Regions from separate parts of the Homo sapiens genome. Here regions 1 and 3 are each linked to region 2. Evidence: promoter capture Hi-C in human tissues and cell types (Jung and others, 2019). All regions are on one chromosome and are shown on one strand. The core of a region is centred on a gene start or on the middle of the fragment in contact, and the rest is flanking DNA. Distances in the headings are between cores, read along the strand shown. Region 1 has its middle 11 kb from the start of ST20. Region 2 holds the start of BCL2A1 (BCL2 related protein A1). Region 3 has its middle 41 kb from the start of ZFAND6.

What was found. Contacts are between HindIII fragments. The study calls those that stand out against the background at their distance.
Region 1: a contact is called between a fragment that was not itself captured here and the fragment with the promoter of BCL2A1 in region 2, in 1 of the 25 tissues and cell types used here (adrenal gland).
Region 3: a contact is called between a fragment that was not itself captured here and the fragment with the promoter of BCL2A1 in region 2, in 1 of the 25 tissues and cell types used here (lymphoblastoid cells).

The regions. Positions count from the first base shown.
Region 1 is chr15:79,933,136-79,935,891 of GRCh38, forward strand. No RefSeq gene overlaps it. Among named protein-coding and RNA genes, the nearest start is that of ST20, 11 kb to the left of the region's middle. The HindIII fragment of the contact is 4,458 bases long and covers 1-2,756 here.
Region 2 is chr15:79,969,873-79,972,572 of GRCh38, forward strand. BCL2A1 (BCL2 related protein A1) reads right to left here and starts at 1,324. Exons shown (of 2, transcript NM_004049.4): 1 at 828-1,324. The coding sequence starts at 1,247. RefSeq lists an enhancer at 748-1,947. The HindIII fragment of the contact is 21,858 bases long and covers 1-2,700 here.
Region 3 is chr15:80,017,800-80,020,539 of GRCh38, forward strand. No RefSeq gene overlaps it. Among named protein-coding and RNA genes, the nearest start is that of ZFAND6, 41 kb to the right of the region's middle. The HindIII fragment of the contact is 3,110 bases long and covers 1-2,740 here.

The DNA.
Region 1 (2,756 bases), core at 127-2,626, 37 kb before region 2:
AACTAGCCCAGCCTGTAGGAGTTTTTGGGAGCAGAAGTTAGCGGAAGGAGTCTTTTACCCAGGGTAGTAGTACCACCACAATCAACAAAGCAAGAAGATTTGAGAGTCAGAATTTACTGGCAACAGTCCTGGGCCTATACATCAGAGAAGAAAAATTTGAACGGGTCCTGAAATAAGATTAGAAGCAGATCTGAAAAGCCAAAGTAAAGAGCCAGGGAAACAAATGAAAGCCAGGCGCACTGGGTTCAATGCTAGATGACAGGGTGATTCTTTGTGAATGCCAAAAGGAAGTGGTTGCAGGCAGTTGCAACCTTTGTTTCCATGCCCTTTGTAGCAGGGCATTTGGAAGAAACAGTTGCATTTAAGGGTTAGGGATTCTGTGCCTTGGCAGGGTTGTGAGTTTCCAGCATTGAGACCAGTTGGTAACCAGATCTGCTCGACTAGAGCCCAATCTGCAAAGCTCCCTAATGCAGAAGGGAGCTTTACCATTGTGTAAACAGATTCTATCTTCCCATGGTTCCTAGAAACCAGATAGCCTTCATCGCACATCTTCACTCTATTCTAGAGAAATGAGGGCAAGGTGTTGGGCAGGGCAGGTTAGAGACGAATAGTCGGGTATGGCACAGGTGGCTCCCTGTTATCAGTGGGTATGGTTTACCTCACATGGGGCACCTACAAACGAAGTAGTGGCCAACAGAGCTGCTTTGTCTGTGGGCATGTTTGTCTACCTGCATTATTAGAGGACTTGTTTCCTCTTCCCTACCACAACAATCCTCCCAAATTGTTTGAGCTTTTTCTACTGCCTATTTTTGCAGCCGATGTCAGTTGATCAAGAGGTATGGCCTGGTATTTAGTCCACCTTGAGTCAGATGCAGGTATCAGTTAGCAACTCTGCTTACTAAGTACTTGAATATTGGGTTCAAATCATGTTATAGTATCATTTATAGACAACTCATGAGCAAACCACCAAAATTCTGCTGTGCAATAACAGCAGGGCAGATCATGGTATTAAATGTATTTATCCTGGCAGGGAGAAGGTATGTGTATACTGTAGGACAGCTGGAGTGTGTGTATTGCTTTCAAAGGTGGGATTGCAGGCTACATGAGAGAAAATGAATTTCCCCAACCTCTCCAACGGCCAAGATAAAAGACATGCCTTTCTATCTCTTCACCTTTGATGCATTCAAAGCTACATCATCATGTTACACAAGGTCCCTTTTAAGAGTAGGTGTAGCCTGGGCCAGCCATGGTGGCTCACGCCTGTAATCCCAGCACTTTGGAAGGCTGTGGTGGGTGGATCACTTGAGGTCAGGAGTTCGAGACCAGCCTGGCCAACATGGTGAAACCCCATCTCTACTAAAAAATAGAAAAATTAGCTGGGCATGGTGGCAGGTGCCTGTAATCCCAGCTACTAGGGAGGCTGAGGCAGGAGAATTGCTTGAACCCAGAGGTTGCAGTGAGCCGAGGTCATGCCATTGCACTTCAGCCTGGGCGACAGAGCAAGACTGTCTCAAAAATAATAATAATGCTGCAAAAATAACATTCTCATTCACCAGTCTCACTCAGTTGTTGGAGAAATTACTTAATTTTCAAAATTGTGGGGTAAGATGTGTAAGATCTATGCACAAAGCTATTTATTATGGTATTATTGCAATAGCAAAAGACTGAGAGCAACCCAAAATTATCAGTGTGGGACTGGTTTTAAAAAACTATGATACATCCACGTGATGGAGGACTATGCATCTATGAAAAGGAAAGAGATGAAGATCATGTAGCTCCAGGATAACTGGTTCAGAATGGTGCTTATAGTATGCACCTTTAGTACAAGAAGCAGGAAGGGACATGAAAATATATACATATATACTTATGTTTGTAAGAAGCTATGATGAGAAGATAAACCCAAAATAAATAAAAATGGTAAACAAATGGAGAAGGAGGGCATAGAGTGAAGGGCATAGAAATAGTCCTATGGAGAAAAATAGGGAGGGGGGTGGGGCAGGATTGCAATTTTATTATTTATTTATTTATTTTGAGACAAGGTCTTGTTCTGTCACCCAGGCTGGAGTACAGTGGTGTGATCTTGGCTCACTGCAATCTTTGCCTCCTGGGCTCTGAAGGAGGCCAGCCCCTCCACACCTGTGGGTATTTCTTGTCAGGTGGGACGAGAGACTGAGAAAAGAAATAAGACACAGAGACAAACTACAGAGAAAGAACAGTGGGCCCAGGGAACCGGCGCTCAGCATATGGAGGACCCGCACCAGTGCCCGTCTCTGAGTTCCCTCAGTATTTATTGATCATTATTTTTACTATCTTAGCGAGGGGAGTGTAGCAGGGCAACAAGTGGGGAGAAGGTCAGCAGGGAAACATGTGAGCAAAGGAATCTGTATCATGAATAAGTTCAAGGAAAGGTACTGTGCCCAGATGTGCACGTAGACTAGATTTATGTTTCTCTTTACCCAAACATCTCAGTGTAGCAAAGAGTAACAGAGCAGTATTGCTGCCAGCACATCTCACCTCCAGCCACAGGGCGGTTTTTTCCTGTCTCAGAATAGAACAAATGGGAATGGTCAGCTTTACACCAAGACATTCCATTCCCAGGGACGAGCAGGAGACAGAAGCCTTCCTCTTATCTCAACTGCAAAGAGGCCTCCCTGTTTCACTAATCCTTCTCAGCACAGACCCCTTACGGGTGTCGGGCTGGGGTATGGTAAGGTCTTTCTTTTCCCATGAGGCCATATCTCAGGCTGTCTCAGTGC
Region 2 (2,700 bases), core at 74-2,573:
GAGAGAGGATCAATGAACACTTAAGTGCTTTAAAAAAATAATTATTAAGTATATTGGAATATAAAGGAAACCATATACATCCAGCTGTGTCAGGCTTTTTACCAACATGAGTTTCAACACAGGCCTCTACATAGTCTTGGCTTTTTTAGGCACTGATAATAAAGTAAATTTTTATTTGAAAATTCTTGAATAAAGGTTCTTGCTGGTCATACAGTATATTATGTTTTAATCAACAAACTTTAACAGCCCGGAATTTATTATTAGTAATAATGTGTTATATATTATATGTAATGTAATTTGCTATATATTAATATATGTTACTATTTATTATGTATTAGTAAACTGAAAAACACCAATTTGTAAGCGATGAACTTACAAAAATTTACACCTGTCTTTTGCAACCCATAAATACCTAAAAATAACAGCATCTGATAGCAACTTTCTGTGCTGATTGTAGAAATTTCTGTACTGTCTGTACTGTCATGACAACCCTAGCAAAAGCTAAGTACTAGATTAGAGTGTGTGCACAGCTGATTGTGAAGCTGCATGAGAGAGGTGCTTTATTAATCCCCAAAGCTCACTACTGTAATTTATACTGTTAAGAATAAAAACTGAAAACATAAGTGCTTTCCAACTATAAAGTTCAAGTTCAAGGATTCATTGGAAATAAGCCAGAAAGTATATTTTTATTTTAAAAATTAAAACAAACCACCCAAGGAAAATAGTATTCTTAGGTAAAGTGTTTTGTTGTTGTTTTAACTAGCAAGGAAATTCTCAATTTCTATTTCACAGGAAAGAACAATGAAGAATTTTTCCATCACACATACCCAGCCTCCGTTTTGCCTTATCCATTCTCCTGTGTTATTCATTATGAACTCCGCAACAAAATATGAAATCTCCTTATAGGTATCCACATCCGGGGCAATTTGCTGTCGTAGAAGTTTCTTGATGAGAATACCTTCAAATGCAAATATGGTTACAATTCTTCCCCAGTTAATGATGCCGTCTTCAAACTCCTTTTCCATCACTTGGTTGAATAGTGTTCTGGCAGTGTCTACGGACACAACATTAACATTGTCCAAGCATGACTTCAGATTCTTTTCCACTTCTTTTTGGACTGAGAACGCAACATTTTGTAGCACTCTGGACGTTTTGCTTGGACCTGATCCAGGTTGTGGTATCTGTAGGACGCACTGCAGATAGTCCTGAGCCAGCCTGTAAATATATCCAAATTCACAGTCTGTCATCTTCTGCCTGGTGGAGAGCAAAGTCTTGAGCTGGCTCACCTTGAAGCTGTTGAGGCAATGTGCTGAGAATGCTCACTGAGCTTGACTGAGTTATGACACATGATGATACATGGAGGCTGGTGGAATTTCTGTTTGCATCACTTTATAATATCCTTCCTCCTAGTCACTTTCGTGCGTAGGCTGTGTTTCATGTCATGTATGAAAGAGAAAGTTTAAAATGTGAAAGAGGAAAATGTTTCAGAGAAGCCACTTCCTCATCCTGTGATTAATTCAGCTTTGCAAGTCTTAAATGCAGGATGTGGAGAAATTAGAATCCTTGTAGATTGCTGGTGGGAATGTGAAATGGTACAACCCCTGTGAAAATGTTGGCAGTTTCTCAAAAAGTTAAATACAGAATTGTCAAAAGACCCAGCAATTCCATTCATAGGTATACACCCAACAGATACTCAAATACTTACATACGAATGTACATGGCAGCACTATTCACAATAGCCAAGATGTGGACACAACTCAAATGTTCATCAACAGACGAAAGGATAAATAAATTATGGAACATTATTCATCCCAAAAAAGGAATGAAGAACTGATACATGCTTCAACAGGAATGAACCTCAAAAACATTAGGCTAATAGAAAGAAGCCAAACAGAAAAGGTCATACATTATGTGATTCTATTTCTATGAAATATCCAGACAGTTAAATCCATAGGATAGAAAGCAAATTGGTGGTTGACAGGGGCTGAGAAGAGGAAGGAGTAACTGCTTAATGGGTAGAAGGTTTTCTTTTGTGTGATGAAAATGTTTTACAAGGCCGGCCGCGTTGGCTCACGCCTGTAATCCTAGCACTTTGGGAGGACAAGGCGGGCGGATTGCCTGAGCTCAGGAGTTTGAGACCAGCCTGGGCAATATGGTAAATCCCCGTCTGTACTAAAATACAAAAAATTAGCCAGGCGGGTGGCGTGTGCCTGTAATCCCAGCTACTCGGGAGGCTGAGGCAGGAGAATTGCTTGAACCCGGGAGACAGAAGTTGCAGTGAGCCAAGATCACGCCACTGCACTCCAGTCTGGGCAACAGAGCGAGACTCTGTCTCCAAAAAAAAAAAGAAAAGAAAATGTTTTGCAGCTAGATAGAGGTGGAAGTTGCACAACACTGCGAAGGTACTAAATGCCACTGAATTGTTCACTTTAAAATGGTTCTGTGAATTTCAAATTTAAGAAAAGTCTTAAACGCCATCCACGGGGTAAACCGGAGTAACGACAATTTGGAATGGAGACTACAAAACAGCCTGGGTGGCAGAGAACAGGGCCTCTCGAGGTGACTCTGGCAGTACCGCCCTTGATCATTTGTAATTGAGTAAGGATGATACCGAGAGGGAAGAAAAAAATACCCTCTTTGGGCCAGGCACGGTGGCTCACCCCTGTAATCCCAGCACTTTGGGAGGCTGAGGCGAGCGGA
Region 3 (2,740 bases), core at 161-2,660, 48 kb after region 2:
AGTGAGACCAAGAACCCACCAATTCCGGACACAACACTGAAAAAGAGAAGTGAAAGAGGACACCCTTACCTTGTTTCTGAGCTGAGAAAGCTTCTTGTTTCTCACCATTAATAGGTGTTAGCTATAGGGTTTTGTTAATGTTCTTTATCAAATAGAGGAAGTTCTCTTCTAGTCCTAGTTTGGTGAGAGTTTTTATCATAAATGGGTATCGGACTTAGTCAATTTTTTTTTGTATCTATTGATGTAATCTTGTGATTTTTCTTTCTCTGTTGATGTGATGGATTATAGTGATTGAGTTTTTGAATGTTGAACCAGGCTTGCATACCTTGGGTAATTCCATTTGGTCACGGTATATAATTCTTTTGTTTTGTTTTGTTTTTGAGACGAAGTCTCGCTCTGTCACCCAAGCTGGAGTGCAGTGGCGTGATCCCAGCTCACAGCAACCTCCACCTCCCAGGTTCCAGCGATTCTCCTGCCTCAGCCTCTGGAGTAGCTGGGACTACAGGTGCGTGCCACCATGCCCAGCTAATTTTTGTATTTTTAGTAGAGACAGGGTTTCACTATGTTGGCCAGGCTGGTCTTGAACTCCTGACCTCGTGATCCACCTGCCTCAGCCTCCCAAAGTGCTGGGATTACTGGCGTGAGCCACTGCACCCAGCCTGTTTTGTTTTGTTTTGTTTTTTGAGTTGAAGTTTCCCTCGTCATCCAGGCTGGAGTGCAATGACGCGATCTCAGGTCACTGCAACCTCCACCTCCCAGGTCCAAGCAATTCTCCTGCCTCAGCCTCCCAAGTAGCTGGGACTACAGATGTGCACCACCACGCCCAGCTAATGTTTGTATTTTTAGTAGAGATGGGGTTTTTACATGTTGACCAGGCTGGTCTCGAATTCCTGACCTCAGGAGATCTGCCCCCTTGGCCTCCCAAAGTGCTGGGATTACATGTGTGAGCCACCAAGCCTGGCCCTGGTTATGGCATACAATTCTTTTTACACATTGTCGTATTTGATTTGTTAATATGGTGTTGAGTATTTTTGCATTAATATTCATGAGAAATATTGGTCTGTAGTTTTCTTTTCTTTGTCTTGTTTTGATATTAAGGTAATATTGACCTCACAGAATGAGCTAGGAAGTATTCCCTCTGCTTCTATCTTCTGAAAGAGATTAGAGAGTCAGAATAATTTCTTCCTTAAATATTTGATAGAATTCACCAGTGAACTCATCTGGGCCTGATGCTTTCTGTTACAGAAAATTATTAATCATTGATTCAACTTTTTTTTTTTTTTGAGACAGAGTCTTGCTCTGTCACCCAGGCTGGAGTGCAGTGGCGTGACCTCGGCTCACTGCACGCTCCACCTCCTGGGTTAAAGCAGTTCTCCTGCCTCAGCCTCCTGAGTAGCTGGGATTACAGGCACTTGCCACCACGCCCGGCTAATTTTTGTATTTTAAGTAGGGATTCGCCATGTTGGTCAGGCTGTTTTCGAACTCCTGACCTCATGATCCGCTCACCTCGTCCTCCCAAAGTGCTAGGATTACAGGCGTGAGCCACCATGCCTGGCTGATTCAAGTTCTTTAATAGATATTGGCCCATTCAGATTGTCTGTTTCTCTTCATATGTTTTGGCAGATTGTATCTTTCAAGGAATTTGCCCATTTCATCTAGTTTGTCAAATGCCTGGGCATAGTTGTTCATAATATTCCTTTCTTAACCTCTTAATGTTCATGGGATATGTAATTATTAATATCAGAAGTGAAAGAGGTATCTTTCACTTCTGATATTAATAATTTGTCAACTCTTTTTTTTTTTAGCCTGGTTAGAGGCTTATTGATTTTATTGATCTTTTCAAAGAACAGACTTTTAATTTTGATGATTTTTTTTTTTTTTGAGACGGAGTTTGCCCAGGCTAGAATGCAGTGGCACAATCTCAGTTCACTGCAACTTCTGCCTCCTGGATTCAAGTGATTCTCCTGCCTCAGCCTCCCAAGTAGCTGGGACTACAGGCATGCACCACCATGCCTGGCTAATTTTTATATTTTTAGTAGAGGCAGGGTTCGCCATGTTTGCCAGGCTGGTCTCAAACTCGTGACCTCAAGTGATCTGCCTGCCTTGGCCTCCCAAAGTCCTGGAATTACAGGCGTGAGCCACTGTGCCCAGCTTTTTTTTTTTTTTTTTAAAGAGACAGGGTCTTGCTCTGTTGCCCAGGCTGGAGTGCAGTGGCCCGATCTTGGCTCTCTGCAACCTCTGCCTCTTGGGCTTGAGTGATCCTCCCAACTCAGCATCCTGAGTTTCTTTTTGTTTTTTTTTCGGACTATTTTCTCTTTGCTTTTTCATTTCAGAAGTTTCTATTGACATATCTTTAAGCTGAGAGAGTCTTTCCTCAGCCTTATGCACATTACTAATGAGCCCGTCAAAGGCATTCTTTATTTCTGTTACAATGTTTTTGATCTCTAGCATTTACTTTTTATTCTTTCTTAGAATTTCCATCTCTCTGCATTGCCCATCTGTTCTTGCATGCTTTCTACTTTATCCATTAGATCCCTTAGCATATTCATCATAGTTCTCTTAAATTCCTGGTCTGGGCTGGGCGCAGTGGCTGTAATCCCAGCACTTTGGGAGGCCGAGGTGGGCGGATCACGAGGTCAGGAGTTTGAGACCAGCCTGGCCAACATAGTGAAACCCTATCTGTACTAAAAATACAGAAATTAGCCGGGTGTGCTGGTGCATGCCTGTAGTCCCAGCTACT